4 separate regions of the Homo sapiens genome follow, and all the other regions are linked to region 3. The links are contacts of gene promoters, found by promoter capture Hi-C in blood cells and fetal thymus (Javierre and others, 2016). All regions are on one chromosome and are shown on one strand. The core of a region is centred on a gene start or on the middle of the fragment in contact, and the rest is flanking DNA. Distances in the headings are between cores, read along the strand shown.

The links. Contacts are between HindIII fragments. The CHiCAGO score rates a contact against its expected background, and 5 or more counts as called.
Region 1: a contact is called between a fragment that was not itself captured here and the fragment with the promoter of PMPCB in region 3, in 12 of 17 cell types (naive CD8 T cells, M2 macrophages, total CD4 T cells and 9 more). The highest score is 12.8, in naive CD8 T cells.
Region 2: a contact is called between a fragment that was not itself captured here and the fragment with the promoter of PMPCB in region 3, in 6 of 17 cell types (total CD4 T cells, naive CD8 T cells, non-activated CD4 T cells and 3 more). The highest score is 8.7, in total CD4 T cells.
Region 4: a fragment that was not itself captured here is called in contact with the fragment with the promoter of PMPCB in region 3 in 12 of 17 cell types (non-activated CD4 T cells, activated CD4 T cells, naive CD8 T cells and 9 more); the score reaches 15.7 in non-activated CD4 T cells.

Annotation. Positions count from the first base shown.
Region 1 is chr7:104,186,215-104,189,426 of GRCh38, forward strand. It overlaps ORC5 (origin recognition complex subunit 5), which reads right to left. Exons shown (of 14, transcript NM_002553.4): 6 at 2,037-2,167. Among named protein-coding and RNA genes, the nearest start is that of ORC5, 20 kb to the right of the region's middle. The HindIII fragment of the contact is 539 bases long and covers 1,047-1,585 here.
Region 2 is chr7:104,146,279-104,149,528 of GRCh38, forward strand. The region is part of intron 12 of ORC5 (origin recognition complex subunit 5); the gene reads right to left. Among named protein-coding and RNA genes, the nearest start is that of ORC5, 60 kb to the right of the region's middle. The HindIII fragment of the contact is 1,366 bases long and covers 712-2,077 here.
Region 3 is chr7:103,296,003-103,299,051 of GRCh38, forward strand. PMPCB (peptidase, mitochondrial processing subunit beta) reads left to right here and starts at 1,433. Exons shown (of 13, transcript NM_004279.3): 1 at 1,433-1,556; 2 at 2,566-2,706. The coding sequence starts at 1,458. RefSeq lists enhancers at 1,228-1,287, 1,388-1,687. The HindIII fragment of the contact is 11,349 bases long and covers 1-3,049 here.
Region 4 is chr7:104,168,911-104,172,293 of GRCh38, forward strand. All of the region lies in intron 8 of ORC5 (origin recognition complex subunit 5), which reads right to left. Among named protein-coding and RNA genes, the nearest start is that of ORC5, 37 kb to the right of the region's middle. The HindIII fragment of the contact is 2,228 bases long and covers 1,000-3,227 here.

The DNA of each region.
Region 1 (3,212 bases), core at 66-2,565, 890 kb after region 3:
TTTTTTTTCCAACCAAACACAGATCACAAACACAGATCAAAAACAGTACTCAGGGAATACAAAACCCATGTATATGGAGGGCTAACTTTTTTACACTCAGGTTCTGCGGAGTTGATCGCAGGGTTTGAGTGTGCTAGGATTTTGATATATATGGGACTGGTCCTGGAACCAATCCCCCAAGTATACCAAGGGGCAACTGTATTGATTTTCTCTTTGGTTGAAACACTAAAATATGTTTAATAATTTATGAATAACAGTTAAAAAGGCAGTATCATAAGGTTTGTTAGAGAAAACAAACCTAAATGAATATCAAAGTAGTACTTCATTTTCTCCTATCTTAAGCTACCTATAGAACTAGCCTCTGAAAAATACAGAAATATCAATTCATAAAGCATCTTTCCAGAAAAGATCCCTGAAAAGAATATTTTTCAGGTGATTTAATAAACTTTCAAGAAATATGCCACTTACAAACTTTGAAACAAACACAAACAACACTATCTGAAGAAAAAAAAGAAAATGAATATCTTTATTCTTCCATGTTCTATATATAGAGAAAACTAAGAACATTGTGCTATTTTTCTCTAATGTTTAAGGATCCTTTTCTCTATTATTACCAATAGTAGTATAAGACTTAAACCATACTACACATTTATGAATATTATTTTTTAAAAAGCTGTAACCTCACCCTAAATAAAATCATTCCACAGTGAAACTCGAAGAACTTTAAAAAATACCACATTTAAATATATATTTCTCTCTTTACATTTTATTTTCCCATAAATATTTTCCCTAAATTTTTCCTTCTTGTACTTTATAATCTACTTTGAAATGGCTGTCAGCACAGATTCCCACAGGATTCGAGTGCTAAAGAGTGGTAACTGCAAGTTACTTTCCAGGAAAGACCGAGGAGGATTATCTGCTCCTAAGTCCATCTCACTCAGGTGCGTTTTCCTGACCCTCTCCTCTCTGTAAGTCTCTTGTGTTATCATTTCCCTCAGAAGCCAGGGATCCCAAGACATCCAACTTCTAGAGGAATGTTAGTGATAAGCTTGAACTGGAAAAACTGTTTTGTTTTTTCCCAGCTGAGAAGATGTCTGAAATCTACATGTAAATCAGAGGAGCCCTGAAATCTGAAACTTTCAAAAACATACTAAATGTGAGCATAATTTTAAATGATTGCCTTCTGTGTTCTGTCGCAAACACACACTGAAACTAAGTAATACTTTTCAGGGCAAAAACAGAAAAAGAACAAAGTGAAGAAAATGTGCTAAGAGACATAGAATCTGTTACTTTGAAAGTGACTGTTTTCCAGCCTCAGATATATTACTATTTTCTGTTAAATGGAGATAAGATCTTAATTAATTGAAGATTTCTAAAAGGGAAAACAGAAATTCTTGTCTCTTTCCTTTCCCATCCCTACAATTAAAACAAAAAAGGTCAAAGAAAAATTAAACATCAACATTTTCCAAACTGTCTATGAAATATAAACAGCTATTCTAATTGTTAAAAAAAAAAAATTAAAAAGAACCATCTATACAAAGATTACCAGCTCAGGGTCAGTGGTTAATGAAAGACCTGCAATGAAAGCTTCTGACCATACTCAAATCCATCTAGATTCTAGACCTCAATCACCGCATACATAAAACTTGAACAAAATCTGTTACAAAATATTAACAGAGTTGTAAAACTGCTCAAGTTTTTACATCTCTTTTCTGTTATTCCTCATTTTGATTTTTATGGAGTTCTGCATTTTCTGCAATTAGAGAAAAAACAAGGAAGAGTAAGAAGATCTGAGAATGACATTTTTCTGATCAGATCAAACAATCAAAGTTTGTACTAACCCACAGACATCTACCTTCTTATGGTATGTTAGTCTCTAGAGGCCATATGCAAATTCCCAGAATAAAATTTCAGTTTCTAACCTATCTCATACCATTTCTACATGGAAAACATTAAAATACATATATACACATATATGTATACACACACACACACACACACACATATATATATATTCAAGCAAAATGTTCATTTACCAGATGTCTGAGCTCTTTCAAATCTCGACAAACAGTGTAGAAAACTCCAAGAAGAATGTTAATGTAGGCAGCATAGAAATCAGCTGAATACTCTGGAGGATGATCATGGGACAGGATCTTTTGAAGGTTGCCTGTTCACAGGACACAAAATAACTTATAATGATTAACATAGTACACTAATCATATCTTCAAGCATTTTATAACAAAGGTATTAAAAAAAAAACACCCAGACCCAGCAACAATTAAGGAATAATAAAACTATTACAAGATTAGAATACAAAAGTGTGATTTGTGATATAATAAAAAATATATATTTGATCTTCACTGCAGTTCCTGGCACAGAGCTTCTAAAAACCCTCATAATTCCCTGAATGAGAAGGATAAGAGGAGTATCTTTTGTTACTCATAATAAGTCCTTTTAAAACATACCTCAATTTATACTAATGAGGTGTTTCTTGATGGGTGATATGGTTTGGCTCTGTGTCCCCACCCATATCTCATTTGAAATTTTCAGTGGAGGAGGGGCCTCGTGGGAGGTGATTGAATCATGAGGCAGACTTCCCCCTAGCTGTTCTTGTGATAGAGTTCTCATGAGATCTGGTTGTTTCAAAGTGTGCAGCACTTCCCCCTTCATGCTCTCTCTCCTGCTGGCCATGTGAAGATGTGTTTGCTTCCCCTTCACCTTCCACCATGATTCCAAGTTTCCTGAGGCCTCCCCAGAAGCAGAAGCCTGTACAGCCCACAGACTGTGAGTCTATTAAACCTTTTCTTTATAAATTTATAAATTACCCAGTCTCAGGTATGTTTATAGCAGTGTGAGAATGGACTAATACAGCGGGCCCCTAGATAGCTTCAGGATGGGGACTGGTTGTCAGAGGAACCAACCAAGTGATTAGAGCCCTGTATTGTCACATACACTGCTATGAAGAAATACCCATGACTGGGTAATTTACAAAGAAAAGAGGTTTAATTGACTCACAGTTCTGCATGGCTGGGGAGGCCTCAGGAAACTTACAATCATGGTGGAAAGCACTCAACAGGGCAGTAGGAGAGAGAATGAGTGCCAGCAGGGAAAATGCCGGATACTTATAAAACCAACAGCTTTCGTGAGAACTCAGTATCTTGAGAACAGCATGGGGGAATCGCACCCATGATTCAATTACCTTCCAACAGGTC
Region 2 (3,250 bases), core at 145-2,644, 850 kb after region 3:
GCAATTACCGTATTACCCTGCAATTGCACTTATGCATTTATTCCAGAGAACTGCATGTTCACATAAAAACTAGTACATGAATGTTCCTAACAGCTTTAATTGTAGTAGCCAAAAAACGGGAAAGAACCCAGATGTCCTTCAACAGGTGAATGGTTAAACAAACTGTGGTATATGTATACCACAGAATACTCCTCAGTAATTAAAATGAATGAACTATTAATACATGCAAAAATTTGGATGAATCTGAGGAATTATCCTGACTCAAAGAAGTTAATTCCCAAGTGTTATATACTATATGATTATGCTTAAACAAATTCTTGAAATGACAAAATTCTAGAGGTAGCAATTACCAGTTAACAGGAATTGGGGAAGGGGAGGAAGAGAGGAAGGTATGGTCATCAGTGAGTATCACGGAGAATCCTTGTGATAATGGAACCGGTCTTGACTGTGGTGGTGAATTAACAAAACTATGCACAGGATAAAATTTCATATAACCAAATATATATAGACATACACAAAAGAATACAAATAGAAGTAGGGAAATCTGAATGAGATCAGTAGATTGCATTAATGTCAGTTTCCTGGTTGTGATATTTTACTATAGCTTTGCCAGATGTTATACCACTGTGGGGAACCAGTAAAGGACACACAGGAAGAGAGAATACACATTATGTTTTACAACTGTGTGTGAATCTATAATTACCTCAAAAAAGCTTAATTAAAAAATAAAACACTGATAACGTACTCAAAATATAGAGGGCTTTGAGAAATACCTTGTAAACTGTCAGAATAAATGTTATCTCAAAATGTTTTAAGTAGCTATGAAGCTAAAAAAATCTACTTGTAAAAATAAAAACACTTTTTAACCCTTATTTGTAAAGATTTTTAAATCTCTCCTACTTAAAGGCAGATGATTAGTTATGACTTGGGGCTCAGACTCAAGGAGGATTTGTAGCTACTGGTTTCATGCTGTGAGTCCATAAAGGTCCTTACAAATTTGCCACAAACCTGTGACTAGTAAAACTTATTACTTCCTCTACAGCAAAGGAAGATTATAGCAAAAGTATTGCTATATAAATCCCAACCGGAGTGTTCTATTTTTCCAAATTCTTACTTTATATATTTTTGAATGATAAAAGTTCTGTTTTTATTTGTTTGTTTTGGGGCTATAAAAGCCAACTGCACTTCAAATTTATTAAAAATAAATTTTTCAACATAAAAATAATTGCACAGTAAAATTCTGAGCTTGCCCATCAGGACTTGAAACTTTGGAGATCAATACTTCACTTAATAGATGATGAAAGAGACATCATAAAAGGACAATTGGCATTATCAGTCCCTAGTCAGTCACCCACACAAATGAACGTTTCCAAATATTTAATCCAAAAGTCCCAATGAAAAATAATACAACACATATGTCGTGCTAAAGGTTTGCTAGAAAACATTTCAGAGTTGTAACAACAAATTTTAAATTAAACACTTGTTTTAAGAATACTGAACATATTAAAAACATTTAGCCAAAATAATACTTCACATTGGGTGTTGATGATTAGAAAATGGTTTGCCAAGACTACTGCTACTGTGAATAAAGAACACCAGTATGAGCCTATGTGCTTTTATCTTTTTTTCTGCTGTCTTTCAAAATTCCTGAGAATGACACATATGTGTTTTGGCATTTACTCCTTCCCTCAGGTTCTAGCAGAGGATATGGACAAAACTTGAGGGGCAGGGGTCAGGGAAAGATAGCTATAGGAACTAATTAATACTATTAATGACCATGGTAATTAGTGGCATATGGACTGGAATTTATTACTGTGTCCAGGCTCTGTGACAGACATTGTGCATCCTCAATTCTCACAAAAACCCTCCCATGATTACTATAAATAAATCTCTCTTTTCCAGACGATGACACCACCTCAGAGAGGTGAGTAAATTGCTCAAGGTCACGAAGTTAACAGTGGTTAAGAACAGCACTGGCTTTGAATACTATCTGAATCCAAAGCCCATATTCCTTATACTACCCCAAACAAGGAGCTATAGAATACAAAGAGATAATTTTGTTGGGCGAGATTAGGAAAGCTTTATGGAAGAAGGAAATGACTACTCCACCTTGCATTCTACAGTGAAGGCAATAACTATTAGTATGCTGGAAAAGTAAGAAACCCAGGAGAGCAGGCAATGCAAGTAAAACAGAGAAAAAGCCTTAAATGAAATTGTAGCAATAAGGACAAAGAAGTATCTCAATACAGTACAGGCAAATGTCCTGCCACAGGGATATAGAATAACCTTGAGAAGTAACAATTAACAATACTGTGAACAGAATTGTTAGATGTATGAGTTTGATGTCACAAAAGTAAAACATTAATGTGGAATTGATTTAACCTAATGACAGGTTAATTTTTCATAAGTCAGATTATATATTACATTAGACATTAAATTGCTGTTTTTAAGGTTTAATTTTTAAAAGGTAAATATTGGCCAATGTTGGCTCACACCTGTAACCCCCGCACTTGGGGAGGCCGAGGCAGGCAGATCACTTGAGGTCAGGAGTTCAAGACCAGCCTGGCCAACATGGTGAAACCCCAGGTCTATTAAAGATACAAAAATTAGCTGGGTGTGGTGGCGCATGCCTGTAGCCCCAGCTATTTGGGAGGCTGAGGCAGGAGAATCGCTTGAATCTGGGAGGCAGAGGTTGCAGTGAGCAGAGACTGTGCCACTGCACTCCCACCTGGGCGACAGAGTAAGACTCCGTCTCAAAAAAAAAAAAAAAAAGTAAATTTAAGGTTGGGGGAAAGCATGATTTCTTAAATCCAGAAATTATTAGATGATATTGAAGATGGTATCCCAAAGCAGTTTCTTACACATTTGTGGATTAAAGGTCATTTACAGAAACATTCACAACTACAACTCATAAAATATTAAAATACATTAAAAGAAAGGGTAATGAAAAGGTCTTTTTCTGAAACACTAGAATCATTTCCAGGTAAAGTCATCTTAATTATGTAGGTAAATATAAAAATTGTGGGAAAATTATAACTCCCCTTCTGGGTTTCTACACCCTATGAAGATATATTCTATTGTCAGTAATGTTCAGATTTTAGGGGATTATATACTGCTTTCCACAGCTGCTTTTCTTGTCCGTTTTGTCAAGCTCAAAGTCAAATGAATAAAACTCAAATGAATAAAAAAGTAGCCTAGGGAGTAGGTTCTCTTTTTCAAAGTCAGGATTCAGATTTCATGTTAGAAAATA
Region 3 (3,049 bases), core at 183-2,682:
GATTGAAGAGGCAGGAAAGGGGTGTATCAATTGAATGTGGAAGATGGAAAAAGAGAGGAGCTTCTGGGTGGTTTGGAGTTTTGGGCAAATGTAGGTATGATTGGCTGTTTGGCATTGCAAATATGGGAAGAGATTCAGGGGACACAGTGAATTCCCTTTTGGACAAGTTGATATTGAGTTTCCAATGGGGTATTCAAGTGTAGTTTCCTAGTAGTTGATGGTTAAGTGGGCTGGAGCTCAAGAGAAAGGCCTGGGTTGGGCAGACAGGTCTTGAAGTGGAGGGAAAAACCCAGAGGGAGAATGTTCAGTAGAAGAGGCTTAGAGTCCTGGCAAACACCAACTTTTAGGGCAAAATGTAGTGTTTCACAGCACAGTCTTTGGCGTTAACCTATTACTAGCAGGGTAACCTGGGGCAAGTTATTTGACTTCAGTGTCTTAATTGCAAAATAAGCACTATACCATCTACCTGAGTTAGAAAAGCATTTGCAATTTTTAGTTCCTTGAGAGATCTGTGGGCTGGGCGCAGTGGCTCACGCCTGTAATCCTAGCACTTTGGGAGGTGGAGGTGGGTGGATTACCTGAGGTTAGGAGTTCAAAACCAGCCTGACCAATATGGTGAAACCCCATCTCTACTAAAAATACAAAGTAGCCAGGCGTGGTGGCACATGCCTGTAATCCCAGCTACCTGGGAGGCTGAGGCAGGAGAATTGCTTGAACCCAGGAGGCAGAGGTTGCAGTGAGCTGAGATTGCACCACTGCACTCCAGCCTGGGCAACAAGAGTGAAACTCCATCTCAAAAACAAAAACAAAAACAAAAAACAGATCTGTGAATAAAGAGGAGTCCAAGAAGGTGCAGAGGGAACTATGAGGAGGTGGAGCTCTAGAATATATTGAGAAAAGAGAATTTCAAAGAAGCCAACAATGTCAAATCCTCCAACAGGACTGTAACATAAGTCTGTAAAGTGTCCAACTTTTAGCAATTAGTGACCTTACCAAGGGCAATTTCTATGGAATGAGATGAGCCATATTGTAGAGGTTCGAAGAGTGGATAGTGGTCAACACGGATACATCGTTTCCTCCCCTCACGGCATCTGTCTCTCCCACTAGACTTTTCCTTTAAAGGCAGTGACTTATGAATATTATTCCACTGTTTTCAATCAATTCCATCCACCAGTGAGATATATTGCATCAGGTTACCTTTCATTCCACCGCATTTGTGCCTTGCACTTAGTAGGCGATCGATAAAATAACTGATGATAAAGGGGCTTCTGCAGACTCCCCAATTCATTTGGTAAAGACCGCTCAGCATCATGGTCGGGCCCTGATTGCTTTCACAACCGCTTCGAGGAGTGTCATTCCCATCACGGCCACAAGGTGGAGCCCACCTCCCTGCTCTGGGACCTCAGGTCGCGACCCCGGAAGCACATCCTTCATCCTCTACCTTCCTTCTAGCAGAAATGGCGGCTGCGGCGGCTCGAGTGGTGTTGTCATCCGCGGCGCGGCGGCGGCTCTGGGGTTTCAGCGAGAGTCTTCTAATCCGAGGCGCTGCGGGACGGGTGAGCTTCCCTCCAGGCCGGTCCTGTCCTCGAGATCTCGCCAGACCCGGCGCAGCGCACCTGAGAGTCGGCGCCACAGATCCGAACAGTGGGTCGGGCAGGGCCTCCTCGACCCGGACCCGCCGGGCGCCAGGCGGCCTGGGGCTGCTGAACTGGCCGGGGGTGACTGGCTTGTGGCCACCCGCCAGGAGACCTGCTAGTGACGTGTGGGATGACCCTGGTTTTCGGCTCCTCCCGCCAGCTACTGAGGAGTGCATGTTTGACCACTAAAAACGTAGTGCTTGCAAATTGGGGAAAACTAAAAAGTGAAATGGGTACCGCTCCAGAGTTCTATTTTTGCCTAAGACTGAACTTCGTCCTCAGCTGGGCTTCCCGCGAACCTGGACATCAATGAAGTAAAATTTTTTATGTATTTGCATTTTTCTCATGAGAGAGCCTCTGACTTTAAGCAAAGGGATGTGAGACTTTTGTATAAGGGCAAAGAAAAACTGCTGAAAGGCGAATAGTTTCTGGCCGAAAAGCCAGTCATTTGCATTTTGAACATCGACCCATCTTCCTATCCTCTCTCTCTTTTTTTTTTTAACCATTTCCAAACCCTGTTGCTTTTCTTGAACAATGAAAACCCGAGTGTCAGTTTTGTCTTGTGTGTAGGTAGTTTTACATAGTTTCCCTCTCTTTTTTTTTTTCCTGCTTGTTTTCTCCATAATGAATATAAAACATTTCTAGGAGAGGTAGTGAAATAAAGTCAATTTCTCTCTGGGTAATGATAATAATTGCTCATCTTCCCTGAGGGAAGGGCATGTTTATAAACACGTTGCTGGCTTTAGGACAGTGGCTGGTGACAGATGTTTCTAGGCCAGGCAGAGATCTCAGTGGAACCAAAATTCAAGAAGAAAGATTCTTTTATAGAGACAGCCTATTTAAAATAGATTTGGTTTTAAAAGCAACATTTAATATCAGATTAGTAATGTGTTTTGCTTTGTCTCTTCCACTTCCTACCCCCAACCAGTCATTATATTTTGGAGAGAACAGATTAAGAAGTACACAGGCTGCTACCCAAGTTGTTCTGAATGTTCCTGAAACAAGAGTAACATGTTTAGAAAGTGGACTCAGAGTAGCTTCGGAAGACTCTGGGCTCTCAACATGCACAGTAAGTGACTCAGGCAACCTTCTCTAAGTGACCCTTCATTTAGCGTAGCAAATTGTTGATTTTAATCTTTAGCTTTTTCGTTGGCTGGTGGTTCAAAAAGGGTGACAGTTATTTTGCCTTGACAGATTTCCATGAGTTGTGAACCTTTTCTTCCAGTGGTACTTAGTTACAGGGTGCATATGTATCCTGTTGCATTGTCTGCATCTTGTTCTTGTAGCTTATTATTGATTATTTATTTTCAGTAGTATTGATAATAATGAAAGAAATATGTTTGCAGGGCTACTCTGCCAAGTGTTTTTACTGATGTCTTATTTGATAAAAAGCAATTGTTTGTAGTGGGCAT
Region 4 (3,383 bases), core at 864-3,363, 870 kb after region 3:
ATCTCTATTAAAAATACAAAAATTAGCTGGGTATGGTGGCGCATGCCTATACTCCCAGCTACTTGGGTGGCTGAGGCACGAGAATCACTTGAACCTGGGAGGTGGACGTTGCAGTGAGCTGAGATTGTGCCACTGCACTCCAGCCTGGGCGAGAGTGAGCCTGTCTTTAAAAAAAACAACAACAAACAAAAAACCAATAAATACTACCACCTACCACTCGGTAAAACTCCCAATGTTCTAGTTACCGTATTAGATGCAATTGTCATATACTATTTCTAAACTCTATAGCAATCCCTCAAAGTAGGTATCACACCAGAAAACTGAGGCTCAAAGATTAAGTCACCCAAGGACATTTAGCCAGTCAATACTAGAGCTACGAGTCGAATCCTTGTAGGATGCTTGCAGAGTTCAAGGTATTTTAATTGCCCCATCCTGGACTTATTTGCAATTAAAACTGTTAAACAACCAAAACACTATTAAGAATATGAAGTGATTATGACACGACAAATTGAATTTATAAGGCAACACACTATAGTATAATGAGTAAAGAATGCCCTACGACAGTTTTAGCTGCATGACTTCGAAAAAATGAATAGTTTACTCATAAAAAAAAATAAGGCAGTTTGATGCAAAGGTGCTCACCAACTCTAAAACTCTCACAGAACTCTTAAAAATGAGCTAATTTACAGGGCTAATTTAAAAATAATGCCAGATTAGAACAATTAAATATCCAAAATCTGCATGAAGAACAGGGTGGAAGTGATAAGGATGAGTGTGGGCCTTCTTTGAGTATACTTTAAAAAAAGTAGTTTTAGCTTTTGAAGTATTCTTTGATGCCCATCTCTCACCTGTATAGCAATCAACAAGTTTAATTTTCCCCTTTCTCTTTTCCTTCTTTTCCCAATTTTTAAGTTGTAATATTCCTACCTTGTCAGAATACATAATATTTACATACTATTCTTCTACTCTTATTTCCACCTTAATTTTAGTTTGGAGCTAAGCTTAATTAAATTCAATGTTCATCATCAATCCTTTTGTTAGTTTCTCCAGTCATCTCTTTTTCACATCAAGGTCGTCCTAAGAAATGTCTTATGAGTAGTGTTCTCTGAGTTCTTCCATGTTTAATATTGTTTTTCTCTAGCCTTGATAGTTCAATGACAGGTTTGACTGAACATAAAATTATTTGGCTTACACTTCCTTTCTCCTTGAGTTTCTTGAAATTGTTGATCCATTTGTTTCACTTTTTCACTGACTTTCCTTTGTAAGTGACTTTTATTTTTTGCCTGAAAGCTCAGAGGTTTTTTTCTGTTATTTTTAAAGTCTAAATGCTTTCCAAGAAGTCTCTGTAGTAGGCTGAATAATGGCTCTGCCTCCAAAGATACCAAAGTCCAAATCCCTAGAACATGTGAATACATTCTTATGGGGTAAAAGGGACTTAGCAGATGTGACTGAGTTAAGGATCTTCAGATAGACATTACACTGCATTATCCAGATAGGCCCAATAGAGTCAGAAGGATCCTTCTAAGAGGAAGACAAGTCAGAGAGAAGAGAAAATGCTACACTGCTAGCTTAGAAGATGGAGAATGGAACCACAAGCCAGGGAATGAAGGCAGCCTCTAGAAGTTAGAAAAGGCAAAGAAATAGATTCTCCTTGAGAACCTCCAGAAGAAAAGCCCTGTGGACCTGTTTTAGACTTCTGACATACAAAACTGTAAGACAGTAACTATGTGTTGTCCTAAATCACTAAATTTCTGATAATTTGTTACAGTACAATATACTAGTACAGTTTCAGAATTGATCATTCTGGATTAATTGGGAAAATGAACTGTTTTAATGTGTAAAGCTAGGTCTTCTATTTCTGGAACGTTTTCTTGGATTATAATTTTAGATCTTAACTCCAATCCATTGTTCTTTTCTGTCTTCAGGAGCTCCAATTAAATATATGTTAAATCTTCTTTGTCTATCATATTTGTCACATCCTACCTGATTATTTTTACCTCTTTTTTTAGTTTTGTTCTCTTGATTATTTTCAGTCCTTTCCTCAATGTCTCTTACTATATTCTCAGTTGAATCTACTTTCCTTTGGATATCTTATTTTTTCATTTTCATTTCTGAGATAACTACTATTGCCTGAACTTTGCTCCTGAGTTTGATCAACTTTTATTTCACATCCCCCTGTTCTTTGTCCATTTATTCTAAGTTATTGAATTTCAAACTTAAAGAATGCTTTCCATACCTGAAAATGCTTTTTAAACAAACCTAAACCAAGTAAAGGTGTGGTATTGCAGTCTTCCTCTGCTTTGTTTTGGGTGTTAAGGGGGAAATGTTCATCAACTAAACTGTTTTATTCACATTTTCTGTTTCTTCCTAAATAATACCTTTACATGGCTTTTCCATGTTGTCTTTTATTCATTTTGAAATACCTAATGTTTGGCTTGGTCAGTAATAACAGGTGACTTTATGAATGCAGGGGTAAGGTTGCGGAATGGCACAATTACTTAATTCTAAAGTGCTCCCTTCTGGAAAAATAATGAAGTCAAGTTTCTTTAATATATGGTGCTATTATGAAAAGGAGGGATTAGCTTCTGATTTTGTCATTTCTTTTTTATTTGGGGGATGAGAGGAATCTTTAATTTCTATCCTTTCTTTCCATTCTTTTCCTTCATTACCAACTCTCAAAGGAATACCACACCCTTCTGAATCAACTACTTGTCTCTCCTCAAAACAGTACTTTCCCAAGACTATCATGCTAACTCTGGCCCCCATACTCTTAAAACAAAAAAAATACAAAAAATTAGACAGGTGTGGTGGCGCATGCCTATAGTCCCAGCTACTCGGGAGGCTCAGGTGGTAGGATCACCTGGACCTAGGGAGGTTGAGGCTGCTATGAGCTGTGATCTTGCCACTGCACTCCAGCCTGGACGAGACAATGGGACCCTGTCTCAAAAAAACAAAAAAACAAAAAACAAAATGTCACTTTGATTCTCCAGTAGCCAGTGCTCTAATCCTTCCAGCCTCAGAACTGTTCAATACTTTCTCACTCAGGGTTGAACTCTCTTTCTTCAAGTAATTTCATTTGTATTTCACCACTACTAGTCAACGTATCCCTTGTCCCAACAATCTTCTCTTTTCCTTTCAGTCTTTGTTTGACTTTTCACCTCAGCATGAGCTCCAGAGCTGGCCCTGTTGGTTTCAGTTGTTTACTTCACTACTGGTATATAAAATGAAGCTTGTAGCAATCTCTAACTCCTGTTAATACAGCAGGCAAGAGTTATGGGTGGTTCTATTAGCTCTCTTTATTGATATTGTGGACACAATTGAATTTAGGTGGCCATAATTATCCTATGGGACTAGAAGTCCTTTCATTATTATGTAAGAATCAT